2 separate regions of the Homo sapiens genome follow, and region 1 is linked to region 2. The links are contacts of gene promoters, found by promoter capture Hi-C in blood cells and fetal thymus (Javierre and others, 2016). All regions are on one chromosome and are shown on one strand. Each heading gives the region's core, a stretch centred on a gene start or on the middle of the fragment in contact. The rest is flanking DNA. Distances are from core to core; before and after follow the strand shown. Region 1 holds the start of TNFSF13B (TNF superfamily member 13b). Region 2 holds the start of ING1 (inhibitor of growth family member 1).

Region 1 (7,165 bases), core at 3,568-6,067, 2.4 Mb before region 2:
CATATTGAGCGGGGACTTAAAGCCTCAGAAGTCTGAGCAGAAAAGCTGAGACCAGGCTCCTTGGGACAGGCTGTTCATATGCATGATTGAGTTTCAGTGATGAGTCCCAGAAGGAAAAAGTTTATGCATGTTTTCCTTAAAAATATATTCACTTATATTTAGAGAATCCTTCAGATATCTAACCTAAATACGTCTGTAACATTTACTCTCATTCTTTTTATGACATTATTAGTATAATAATATGAATAATTCCCAGTGGACTTACTTCCACACTTCCTTCAAGGATTCTCCATTTTATTTCATAATTGAAGACTGTTAATAAATCACTCTCTAGCTAAGAACAATTCAATGCTAAAACACTTAGCTTATCTGACCTTCACATTAATTATTTTTATGACAGCAGCAGGAACTTTCAGCTGCTTTTCCCCCTTCCTTATGAAGCCATGTGGTCCCAAGCAGACAGAGTTCCCTTGCTACACTTAAGGGTGGGCTTCTCAGACCTGAGCATATCTTAAAAGCTTTCCCTTGACTGTGCCAATCCAAACTCCAAGTTTCCTCAGCAGATTTAAGGGGTTTTAAATCTACTTGAGCATGAGTGTTATGAGAAGACTTTGAAATTCTTACAAAAACTGAAAGTGAAATGAGGAAGACAGATTGAGCAATCCAATCGGAGGGTAAATGCCAGCAAACCTACTGTACAGTAGGGGTAGAGATGCAGAAAGGCAGAAAGGAGAAAATTCAGGATAACTCTCCTGAGGGGTGAGCCAAGCCCTGCCATGTAGTGCACGCAGGACATCAACAAACACAGATAACAGGAAATGATCCATTCCCTGTGGTCACTTATTCTAAAGGCCCCAACCTTCAAAGTTCAAGTAGTGATATGGATGACTCCACAGAAAGGGAGCAGTCACGCCTTACTTCTTGCCTTAAGAAAAGAGAAGAAATGAAACTGAAGGAGTGTGTTTCCATCCTCCCACGGAAGGAAAGCCCCTCTGTCCGATCCTCCAAAGACGGAAAGCTGCTGGCTGCAACCTTGCTGCTGGCACTGCTGTCTTGCTGCCTCACGGTGGTGTCTTTCTACCAGGTGGCCGCCCTGCAAGGGGACCTGGCCAGCCTCCGGGCAGAGCTGCAGGGCCACCACGCGGAGAAGCTGCCAGCAGGAGCAGGAGCCCCCAAGGCCGGCCTGGAGGAAGCTCCAGCTGTCACCGCGGGACTGAAAGTGAGTTTGCAGCAGCTGCAAGACGCAGGCAAGATCCTGCCTACACTGCTGCCTCTCCCTCGCCTCAGCTGTCTTTCTAATAACTTGAAGTTTTTCTGTTCATAGATCTTTGAACCACCAGCTCCAGGAGAAGGCAACTCCAGTCAGAACAGCAGAAATAAGCGTGCCGTTCAGGGTCCAGAAGAAACAGGTATGTTTTGGGCACAGACACTTTTAGGAGTCAGGGATTAGAGAATAACATCCAGTCTGGGGGAGCTGGAGGTGAGTATCCCCTCTATGAACCTATTAAATAGAGACTATGAAATTTGCCATCCAAAGCAGACATTGCTTTAGAGCAAAGCCCCAGCGCTGGCAAATGTAACAGGCTGCATGGGTGTGCTTTTTCCTCCAATGAGCAGATCGTGTGACTGGAAGCATTTCTCTGTGCGTGTGTAAGTATTTATCTGTGCATTAAGCATAGAGGAGATAAAAGGGCCATATGTGTTTCCTCAGGTAGATAATGCCCTCCCATGTGAGAAGCATTATTCATCACTCCAGAAAAATAAAAAAAAGCATTACATGTTAGAATTAGACTTTGCTTACTACCTGGGTCATAGAAAGTTAAAGACATCTGTTTTCTGAATGTACATTACATGTTGTGAAACCAGGTGAAGGTTGTAATGAAAGGCCCTGTATGTTGTACTTTAATTTTGTTTATTTGTTAAAAAGGTTATTTTACACACACACACACACACACGCACAGACACACACACAGATTTTAAAGCTTCTCTTTAAGGTACGCTTTTCCAGGGGATCCATGCATTTATCGTCTTCTTATAATCGTCCTTTACTGATTTCTGACTTTCTTCATGTTCTGCTCATTCCACGGAACTTTACAGAGTTGGTGGGGCCTACCAAAATGATCGATTCTAGTTCTTTCATTTGAAGGTGAAAAAAAGAATCTTTGTATACATTTATTAAAGTTATAATATAACAAATTCTTAATATTATTGTCCTTTTATTAAATATATTGAAAGAATATTTTTTGAGCACCTGGAACGTATCGTACAGCTATAGACCAGAATAGGCATTTTCAAACATACTATTTCGTTTAACCTTCACAGTGACGCTATGAAGTCCACAGAATACATGCAATAATTTATGTATATTTTCACTTCTGAAGAGAATTGCATAAGAAATGTAGTGAGAGATAGACCAGGGACCCTTCTATCACACACACACACACACACACACACACACACACACACACACACACGCATGAGGTACCCTGACTATAAACTTATTTTTTGACTATATGCTTTATTCATAAAAAATTGTTTCTTATTTTATAAAACCATAATTTTTGGTATCTGGTTATTGTATCTTTATACTAGTTATCAGGAATAACTGGGCTTAAACATTTTTAAATTAGGAAACATGCACATTTTTATTATTTTAACACATCAATTATTTTTATCGTCTGCATTTTATAGTCTATATTTCCTACATAATTGAAAATAATACGGAATATATACTATAATATTTTTTGTTTTGACTTATACAATAAGGATTTTTCCTATTTCTAAGTATTTTTCATATATCTGTATTAATTTATCTAACAATTGTTTTAAATGGTTATTTCCATTCTCTTTGCTATAATACAACATGCAAAAGTTTTGCACAGAACTCTTTTATTTCTGTGAAATTATATATTCAATATAAAATTCATATAGTGGAATATCTGAGCTAGGGAGAAGAAACATCTTCATCACCCTTGCTTCCGACTGCCATATTGTTTTCAAAATGAGTTATACATGCAATCAAAAATGTGGTGTACCGGTTCTCCACATTCTTGCTTGCATGTTATTTTTAAAGTGTATTTTGACTAGTTTAGTAGTTGTAAAACAATATCTCACATTTATTTTGATGTGTTGCTTGTTTACTAATATGAATAAACTTTCTGCATATTTTGATTATTTATAATTTTATCTTTTGCTAATTTTTATTTATAACTGTCTCCACTTGTCTGTCCCATGTTTTTATAATTTTGGATAAGCTCTTCCTAATTAGACATATTGATAATTGATCAAAATTTTGATGTAAATATTTTAACAGTTTTGCTTCTTTTTTTACTTGAACATTTTGCATTTCTCTATAGTAAAGTGATAATCTTTAAAAAATTTTCCCTAATATTAAAGCTAAAAATACATTTGTTCATGTTTTCTTAAGTAGTTGACTCCCTGCCACTTTGACTTTTTCATAGTTGAGTGTTTTGTTTTAACTCATTAGTCCTTCTGTTGTTTATTTTGATGAATCATCTCACATTGGCTTTAACTTCCCCCTCTCTCTTTTTTCCTTTCTAACTGGTATCTCAACCAAATGTATTAAATAGTTCTTTTTAACTCCTTGGTGTTGAAAAGCTTACTGTGTTTTATTAAGTTCCTCATAAGAGTTGAATCTATTTGAGACTCTTTTTTTTAATTGATTATTCTATTTATATGCTTTAAAGAATATTTTTAAGGTAATTTGTATTATAAGAGGCTTCAATAACTAGTAGGGTCAGGATCCTTCAATCTCCTTAACCTTCACTGCTAATATCCCCGTTTCTAAATATTAGTTTTAAAAATAAACTTTAACTTTACAATTAAAAAAAAAGATGTAGACTCATTTCAGCAGATTTAAGAAGAAAAGAATAATAGAGTAGGAAAGAAATAACTTCTTGGGTCACATTTTCCCAAAATTCTCCTATTAATACTTTTATGTATTTGTGTTTTAATGGCATCCAGGAATAGTATACTGATGAGAATCTTTCACCAAATAATTTGCAATTTGTAGATTCTAACAAAGTGAAAAAAAATTTGCCCAGATTTCCACAGCCCAGAAGTAGCTACTATTATTATTTCATGGTTTGCCCTAGACTTTTTAATAAACCTTAATACAGTGTGCATATAGGTATATATTGCACACAGTTGAGCCTTGAACAACACAAGTTTTAACAGCATGGATACACTTACAGGTGGATTTTTTTTTTCAATAAACCTATTGGAAAATTATCTGTAGATTTGTGATAATTTGAAAAAACTCATGGAAGAACTGTGTATCTTTGAAATGTTGAAAATATTAAGATTAATTAGCCATGTCATGAATGTATAAAATATATGTAGATACTGGTCTATTTTCTTATTACTATCATAAAATATACACAAAAGTTAAAAATTCTCAAAACATATGCATACAAACAGACTGTACATAGCGCCCTTTGTAGTCTAGAGAAATGGAAACAAACATAAACATGCAGTATTAAGTCATCACTGCATAAAATTAACTGTGGTACATACTGTACTACTGTAATAATTTCATAGCCACCTCCTGTTGCTACTGCAGTGAGCTCAAGTGCTGTGAGTATCTGCTTAAAACACCATGTGATGCTAATCATCTCTGCATGAGCCAGTTGTATCTCCAATCAGTTGGATATTGCAGTAAAAATGATTTCTCATGATTTGTGTGTATTTTTCTTCTTGTGTAATGCAATATCATAAACCTTGAATAACACCATGAGACCTATAGAAAATGCGATAGTGATGCTGGAAATGCTCCCAGGAAGCAAAGAAGAGTCATGACATTATAGTTGACCCTTGAACAACACAGGTTTGAACCGCGAGGGTCCCCTTGTATGTGGATTTTCTTCCACTTTCCACCCTTGAGATAGCAAGACCAACGCCTCCTTTCCCTCCTCCCCCTTAGCTTACTCAATGTGAAGAATGAAGAACTCTATAATGATCCACTTCCACTTAATGAATAGTAAATGCATTTTCTCTTCCTTATGATTTTTTAAAATAACATTTTCTTTTCTCTAGCTTATTTTATTGTAAGAATACACTACATAATACATATAATTTATGAAATGCGTATTGATTGAGTTTTTGTTATCAGAAAGGCTTCTGGTCAACAGTGGGCTGTTAGTAATTAAGATTTGGGAGTCAAAAGTTAAGCACAAAGTTTTGACTGCATGGGGTCAGTGACCCTAATTCCTGTGTTGTTCAAGGATCAACTGTATTTGTTCATATACATATGAACAATACATATGAACAATACATATATGAACAAATACATATATTTATACAAATATATGTACAAATATATACACATACAAATATATATATATATACATATATATACATACATAGTGTGCATATGTGTTATGTGTATATATTCAAATAGGACATAGTATACACACTCATAACTTTCACAAATCCAAGGTGGAAGATTTGAAGATAAGAATCTTAATGACATCATGTCTACTATTCCTTGTTAATAAAATTAGGAAATTCATTTGAATGTTGTTCTAGATACTATTCTTTGGTGGAGGGAAAGTTTATTTTATTTAGCATACTCCAAAATTAATGTTTATATTCCCAAAAAAGTTGTCTGTAACACAAGGACGTTTTTTAGTAGGAATTTTTTGGCATTGAGAAAATTCTATGCAGCTTTCTTTGATTTTTGTTTTCATTCAAGTTCTGATTTATTTTCAGTAAGACTCAAAACCTTAAGTTGTCCTTTTTACTTTTAAAGTGTTTATTTATGTTCATATTTATTAATTGTCTACATGTTTTAGAACCAAGTATTTTTATTGGAACTTCACACAAACTGTAGAAGAAGGGAGGGGAATTACCATCAGCCAACATGTCCCAATGATACTCTCTTCCAGGCATCCCATGGGTAAACAGTGGTTTTACTTAATGTTTTAATTTTAGAATTTAGTACTTTGGCTTTAGTTTTGTTTTTCTTAATTACTTTGTGTTTCAAACCAAAATCTCATTAAGCTTAATGTATTTCATAATATCATTTTTGATTGTAGTATAATAAACAGAAATGTGGGGAAATCCAGGATTAAAAAATTGCCAAATAGCTCATATTAGCCAAAAATTCACTTTTAAGCCCGTAACTGTGTTTGGAGATATTCCCAATTTAAAAATTAACTAAAACAATATGGCTTTGAAAATATTACGTAATAAAATTTATTTACAAATGGAATCATGAAGATCCACATTTTGAACATCACTTAACTATAATTTTATTAATTTTAAGAACCTAAAGATGAATGTCTTTAGAGTCTATCAAGAAAGTGAATTCTTTCAAATGGGTATCACTGACCTAAAAAGGTTCATTGTTAAAATTAGGTAACCATTGTATTTTCTTTCCTGTTAATTAATAACTATTAGAAATTTATGTGTTTTAGGATACAGAAAGACAAAATTATTTTTATTGATAATGTTTATTATAATTGTCTCAATTTTAATAATAAAATAATAGTAAAAATATGGACAATTCAAAGTAATGTAAAGCAAGAATAGAAAAAATTGTCCGTATTTCACCTTCCAAATAATTATCATGAGATTTTTGGTCAATCTACTTTAAGGTATATTTTTCTTCATTTTTAAGTGAGCTTGGGATTGTTTAAGAATTACACACAGCTTGCAAAGAATACAGTGTGTTGGCATGTACCCCTATCCAGCTTCCCTAATACTAACATCTTATATGAACATGGTATTTCATTACAAAAAGGAAACCAACATTAAGACTTAACTATTAGCTAAATTCTAGACTTAATTTGAATTTCACGAGTTTTTCTACTAATGATTTTATGTTTTAGGATCCATCAGGATATCACATTGTATTTAACATTTTTTAAATTAAAATTTTGAATGTAGCATATATAAACACCAAATATTATACCTTAAGTTTTCTATCGGATAAACCTTTCTAATTGCTAAAAGTGAAGATATCAATACTATTTTTGAGTCTTCTTTTTTGAAATCCAAAGTCCAACTCCTTTGCAAGGAAAGATGAGATGTTTGACAAGTCTGTAATGTCCAGTCTTTGCCCGGTTGGCATTTCTGGCTTAGCTGTGAGTTCCAGGCTGTAACATGAGTGTTGGAAGCGTGCAATGTAGAACTTGACCATCCA
Region 2 (6,494 bases), core at 3,995-6,494:
GTATATTTGAATTGTTCATAGAACATCACAACTTTTAAATTAACAATAGTATCTTCTGTCTTCAGAAAATTCATGTAATGTTTTTAGCCCCTCACTGGCAGTGATTCTATTATGTTTTCTTTTTTTTTTTTGAGGCAGTCTTGCTCTGTCACCCAGGCTGGAGTGCAGTGGCCTGATCTGGGTTCACTGCAGCCTCTGCCTCCTGGTTCAAGCAATCCTCCTGCTTCAGCCTCCACAGTAGCTGAGATTACAAGTGCACACCACCGTGCCCAGCTAATTTTTGCATTTTTATTTTTATTTTTATGTATTTATTTTTGAGACAGAGTCTCACTCTATCACCCAGGCTGGAGTGCAGTGGCACGATCTCGGCTCACTGCAACCTCCACCTCCCAGATTCAAGTGATTCTTCTGCCTCAGCCTCCCGAGTAGCTGGGATTACAGGTGCGTGCCACCACGCTCAGCTAATTTTTGTATTTTTAGTAGAGATGGGGTTTCATCATGTTGGCCAGGCTGGTCTGGGACTCTGGAACTCCTGACCTCAAGTGATCCAGCCACCTCAGCCTCCCAAAGCGGTGGGAATACCGGCCTAAGCCACCACACCTGGCCAATTCTCTTTTCTCTTTTTTCTTTTTTTTTTTTTTGAGATGGAGTTTCACTCTTGTTGCCCAGGCTGGAGTGCAATGGCGTGATCTCCTGGGTTCAAGCGATTCTCCTGCCTCTTTCTCACGTCTCCCGGGTTCAAGCAATTCTCCTGCTTGTCTCCTGAGTAGCTGGGATTACAGGCATGTGCCACCATGCCCAGCTAATTTTGTATTTTTAGTACAGATGGGGTTTCTCCATGTTAGTCAGGCTGGTCTTGAACTCCCGACCCCAGGTGATCCGCCCACCTCGGTCTCTGAAAGTGCTGGGATTACAGGCATGAGCCACCGTGCCCGGCAGCTAATTCTGTTTTCTTAAGGCTTTTGCGGATCATCAAAACAAGGAGAAACATAGCTCATTACCTAATGATGGTTAGAAATGTGATCTTTTTGCATATTGAATATCTGCAGGTTGAATATTAAGGTAAAGTAAAATAGACTGCTAATGCTCTTCATTACTATACCTCCCAGCCTACATCTTTCTCCTGTGCTGGGTGCTTCCTGCCCTCGAACATCAGACTCCAAGTTCTTCAGTTTTGGGACTCAGACTGGCTCTCCTTGCTCCTCAGCTTGCGGACAGTCTATTGTGGGACCTTGTGATTATGTAAGTTAGTACTTAATAAACATATATATGTATATACATTATATATATCTATATCTCCATCCTATTAGTTCTGTCCCTCTAGAGAACCCTGACTAATACACCATATATACATAAAAAGAGGATCCATTTAATTGAAGTCACCTCCCTCTCCAATCTAGGTCAGAACGAGGAAGTGTGTTAAAGTTAATGATTCCAAAATATCACTAATGCCATTTCTCAGTCCTTAATGACAACAATAACAAAATCAAGTTCTCAGTATTACATTTTCTTTCAAGGCAAAATCTTGTAAATCAGAAGTAGAGTTGATTACGGTAGCATATGGTTTAGGGGTTTTCAAGTTTAAGATGAATGAGTTTGCATTTATTTTTTAAGCACTTTGAAACTTAAACAATTCTATGCTTGGCCAGGCGCGGTGGTTCACGCCTGTAATCCCAGCACTTTGGGAGGCCAAGACAGGCGGATCACCTGAGGTCAGGAGTTCGAGACCAGCCTGGGCCAACATGACAAAACTCCGTCTCTACTAAAAATACAAAAATTAGTTGGGCATGGCGTCCGGCACCCGTAATCCCAGCTACTCAGGAGGCTGAGGCAGGAGAATCGCTTGAACCCGGGAGGCGGAGGTTGCAGTGAGCTGAGATCACGCCACTGCACTCCAGTCTGGGTGACAAGAGCAAGACTCCGTCTCAAAAAAAGAAAAAGAATTATATGTTCATCTCTTATATCTGACTCTCATAGGTTTGAGCATTTTCAGTTAGACTGGAAATATAATTTTAGAAAAAAGTTTAATTTTAAATGTTTCTTTTTAATCCATTTGAAATTTCTGTTCTACGGAAAAGTTTTAACATCCATTTTTGCAACACGCCACAGGAAACAAAACTGAAAGAGACAAGATTCTTCAACGTATCTTCAAAATTAAGCACCTTTCTTCAATGACATTTAAAATTCGTTATCAAAGGTAATTATGTTTTATTGCTTGATCTTCTAAGTTTGTTCCAAAAAAGATAAAATCTTTTTTGACTTTTTATCCCAAGGGGTGGGCTAAAAGTTTTATGGAATGTAAAGCTCCAAAAAACTTTTCACTACTGTATCCCCAGCGCACGGACCAGTAGTTGGCACATGGTAGACACTCGTCAATATTCCTTGTTGAATGCTTAAGATGCCTTTTTGGTTTATGTGTATGTGAAGAGAGTACATAACTAGAGGAACAAAATCATTACTCAGATTGTACTGTGTTGTGATTTTTTTTTTTAAAAAGAAAACCTAGGTTAAACTCCATCTTATCTTTGTAAAGGGTAAATTACTTCCAATTTTATTCTTGAGTTCAGATAAACACTATTCATTCTAGAGCCAATGAATGCTAGGAATAGAAGAACCGGTCTATTTCTTACTATTGTACTTTTAAATTACTTATATGCTTTTTGAGGGAAAGGCGTAATTTTCCTTATTCAACTTTGTACTCCCTCTATACTCTGTATTCGACATAATGTTTGTTTCCACATAATGTTATCTTGTCGTAGTCTTTTTTTCTCTTTTTTTCCGGAGATAGTCTTGCTCTGTCGCCCAGGCTGGAGTGCAGTGGCACAATCTCGGCTCACTGCAACCTCCCCTCCTAGGTTCAAGTGATTCTGTCTCAGCCTCCCCAATAGCTGGGACTACAGGCACGCGCCACCATGCCCTGCTAATTTTTTGTATTTTTAGTAGAGACAGGGTTTCACCATGTTGCCCAAGCTGGTCCCGAACTCCTGATCTCAGGCAATTCGCCCGCCTCGGCCTCCCAAAGTGGTAGGATTACAGGCGTGAGCCACCGCGTCCGGCCAAGTGTTATAGTCTTTTGTGCAGACCAAGTAGTGGCCAATAAATCTTGTAGAAACTAAAGTACTCATTTGCTTTTAACTAGGCCAAGACTAGAATAGCGTGATCTGTAAGTAAAATAACAGCCATTTCCCCAAATATCAAAGCCAAAGCTCTCCTGCTGTGTAGGTGAGATGAAGGGGCTTAAAAGTGAAGATTAAATCCACTTCAAAGTGTAAAGAGTATCCATCCATTTATCATTGCAGCAACGTTGCAACGTGAACAATCCGATTCCAAATACAAAACAGCTTAATTCAGTCTCTTTGCCGTACTCACATCCATAGCACAAAATACCCGGCAGGGCCCTGGAATGAGCACCACTGCGGTTAATAATCTACTCTATAAATACTGGACGAATCCAAATTTTTACTGGATTACACAGAATACGTTTTTAAAAAATCCAAAGAGTTTTAGATGTTACAACAGGGTTCCATCAAATACCACGTTTCCAAATCTTACCACCAGAATGTGTATCCATTTCAACTGCAATTATTTTGTGTCTAAAACTGTGTACTCTGCTTTGCAACAGGATAAACCCGGTGGATAAAAGCTGAAATCCGACCCTGTCCTAATTAAGAGGCTAAGAAAAATGGAGAACCGCGCTGGCGTGGAGTTGATACAGAAACACTGCAAGGGCTGGGGACAGGGCTTAGTTCGTGGAATACACAGGCAGCACCACCAACCCGGCTCTCCGGAAAAGAGAAAGTCCAGTGAGAAAGGTGAAAACTGACAAGGCACCGTTCTCCGACTTGCTGAAAAAAAGACAATGCAAATAGAGCAGGGTCCAAGGCGGAAGAAAATCAGAGAAAAGCAGGCAGCCAAGCGTGGCGAACACAGCTCTCGGGGCCACCCCGGAGGGGACCCGCGGCGGCCGCAGCGGGGCGGAGGCCGAAGCCGAGGCCGCCCCGGAACCAGAGAGCCAGGCGGGAAGTGCACAAAGGCACGAGGCCACGCCCAGGAGGGGCGGGCCCTTTGGCCGGAAGGGGGGGGGCCGGCGCGCGGGGCCGGTCGCCTAGGCAACGGGCTCGCGTGGCGTCCAGGCTTCTCAGAAAGCCCAAAATCCGGGAGCTTTGGGAGGGTAGAGGGGCGACGCGGGGGAGGGCGGTCCGGGGAGCTGAATGGCCTCAGGACGCCGGCCGACCGGGTGTCTGCATACTGTGGGCGGCCTTTCCAAGTGTGGGGAGCGGCCTCCGAGAACGGTGTCCATGACACAGGGCGGGAAGAGATAAGGCCTAGGGAAGGCGCCCCTCGGGCCTATCCACCTCTTCTGGGGCTCGGCACTAGGAAGCAGCTTCCCTCTCAGGCCCCTTTGTCTCCAAGCCGTTCCAAACTGAGTACCGGGAGACGACACAAAGGGAGGGCGGTGACGGATGGCGCAGGCGCGGGAGCCGCCTAGGCTGCTGGGAGTGGTGGTCCGGCCGCGGAATGGGTAGGTCTCCCGCGCACTCTGCGGCCGCAGCTCAAAGGACACCGAGAGGGTGCCAGTGCGCATGCGCCGCCACTTCCGCCCGTGCCCGGCCCTCCCCTTCCTTCCGCCTCCCGGAGGACTTGGGTTTCTAGTAGTAAGAGTCCGGGGGGCATTACTCACGGTCTCCCCGCCTCCTCTTCATCGTGATTGGGCTGTCAAAGTGATGTTGGCAAGTAGATTGGCTACTGCGGTTGCCAGTTCTGTTTCGGGCCCTACTTATACTGCTCTGTGGGGCGGGGACGAAGAGTCAGGGGCTGAGGAGCGAGTTGCGGTAGTTGCTGTGTACCATGGTCTCGGAGGTTTCTGTCCCGCGGCCCGTTAGGTCCTGGTCGGGTTTTCAGCGAAGCAGGCCGCTCCCCTGCGTTTCCCAGCGGGCGTGCTGTGCCGCCCAACAGGCTCTGCCTCCAAGTGCCAAAAACTCCTAGTAAAGTTTGCGCCTCGCCCGCCGTCCACACCCCAGCGGCCCTGACGCTGTCCCCTCCGCGACCCTCGCCTCTGGAAAAAGTGACAGGCAAGGCCACGCCCCCGCGAGGGCCGGCCTGGAGCCCGCAGCCCCCAGGGCCTGGGACGGTGAGGGGCGTGAATGCGGCGGGGGGCGGGGCCGTTGCCGGGGGAGGGGGCCGGGGCGCATGCGCGCTGCGCAGCGGGGCTGAATGTTTCCCAAGTGTTTGAAACTGGTATTTGGGTTTTCCACGTTGGACAAGTGCGGCTCGGCGGCCAGCGGAGCGCGCCCCTTCCCGCTGCCCGCTCCGCTCCTCTCTTCTACCCAGCCCAGTGGGCGAGTGGGCAGCGGCGGCCGCGGCGCTGGGCCCTCTCCCGCCGGTGTGTGCGCGCTCGTACGCGCGGCCCCCGGCGCCAGCCCCGCCGCCTGAGAGGGGGCCTGCGCCGCCGGCCGGGGCGTGCGCCCGGGAGCCACCGCCACCGCGGCCCGCGCCCTCAGGCGCTGGGGTCCCCGCGGACCCGGAGGCGGCGGACGGGCTCGGCAGATGTAGCCGCCGGGCCGAAGCAGGAGCCGGCGGGGGGGCGCCGGGAGAGCGAGGGCTTTGCATTTTGCAGTGCTATTTTTTGAGGGGGGCGGGGGGTGGAGGAAGCGGAAAGCCGCGCCGAGTCGCCGGGGACCTCCGGGGTGAACCATGTTGAGTCCTGCCAACGGGGAGCAGCTCCACCTGGTGAACTATGTGGAGGACTACCTGGACTCCATCGAGTCCCTGCCTTTCGACTTGCAGAGAAATGTCTCGCTGATGCGGGAGATCGACGCGAAATACCAAGGTACGGCCGGGTGATGGATGGGCGGGGGCGGCCGCCTCCTTCCCGGCGGGTCCGGGCGCGCCGCGGAGCCGGGCCGGTCCTGCCGTGGACCGGAGGAAGCGGCCGGCTCCGCAGCGGCGGCCCTCGGCAGGGGCAGGAACAAAAGGTCTGGAGCGCCTTTGATTCGCCAAGGTCCTTGTGTGCAAAGCCCGGGACACGGAGGAGGAAGGAGGCGCGAGAGGTCTCGCTGCAAGGCTGCGCGACCAAAGCGCTCTTTGTAGTGAAGTGATGAGGCGGGTGCTGCGGGGGAGGGGGCGGCGGGTCCAAGCCGCGTCCTCTAGGAGGGGGTGCAGATTACGGCGCGAGATGGAGGGATGTGCCGGCGCCTGGGGCTATAGGGCGCCGAGACGGGGCTGCAGGAGGAGGGCGGCTGTGGGCCGGGGTTCCCGCGGACCCGGTGCCTCGGTCCCGGGCAACGCCGTTCCTCTGGCCCTTCTTCGTCGCCCCCCACTCAGTCCCGAATCTGAGTGTTACATAAAGTACCGGGTAGTACTCCGCTCGGGGTAGGTCGGCCGCCCCCGCCCAGCCCCCTCCGGCCCTCACTTGGAGCTGGACACCGAGTAGGGGCCGACTGCGAGGGGCGACGCCGCCGGTTGTAGTTTGCGGAGGACGAGGGCTTTTCTCT

Evidence for each region. The method cuts DNA at HindIII sites, captures the fragments that hold promoters and counts their contacts. A CHiCAGO score of 5 or more calls a contact.
Region 1: a contact is called between a fragment that was not itself captured here and the fragment with the promoter of ING1 in region 2, in 1 of 17 cell types (neutrophils). The highest score is 7.1, in neutrophils.

Annotation. Positions count from the first base shown.
Region 1 is chr13:108,269,016-108,276,180 of GRCh38, forward strand. TNFSF13B (TNF superfamily member 13b) reads left to right here and starts at 703. Exons shown (of 6, transcript NM_006573.5): 1 at 703-1,219; 2 at 1,325-1,409. The coding sequence starts at 881. RefSeq lists enhancers at 739-1,168, 1,120-1,628 and a silencer at 1,529-1,608. The HindIII fragment of the contact is 2,403 bases long and covers 3,617-6,019 here.
Region 2 is chr13:110,708,456-110,714,949 of GRCh38, forward strand. ING1 (inhibitor of growth family member 1) reads left to right here and starts at 5,245. Exons shown (of 2, transcript NM_198219.3): 1 at 5,245-5,830. The coding sequence starts at 5,695. It also overlaps a transcript of CARS2 not described here. RefSeq lists enhancers at 3,672-3,761, 4,362-4,411 and silencers at 3,902-4,241, 3,915-4,083, 5,082-5,431, 5,442-5,631, 5,792-6,081 and 2 more. The HindIII fragment of the contact is 10,550 bases long and covers 1-6,494 here.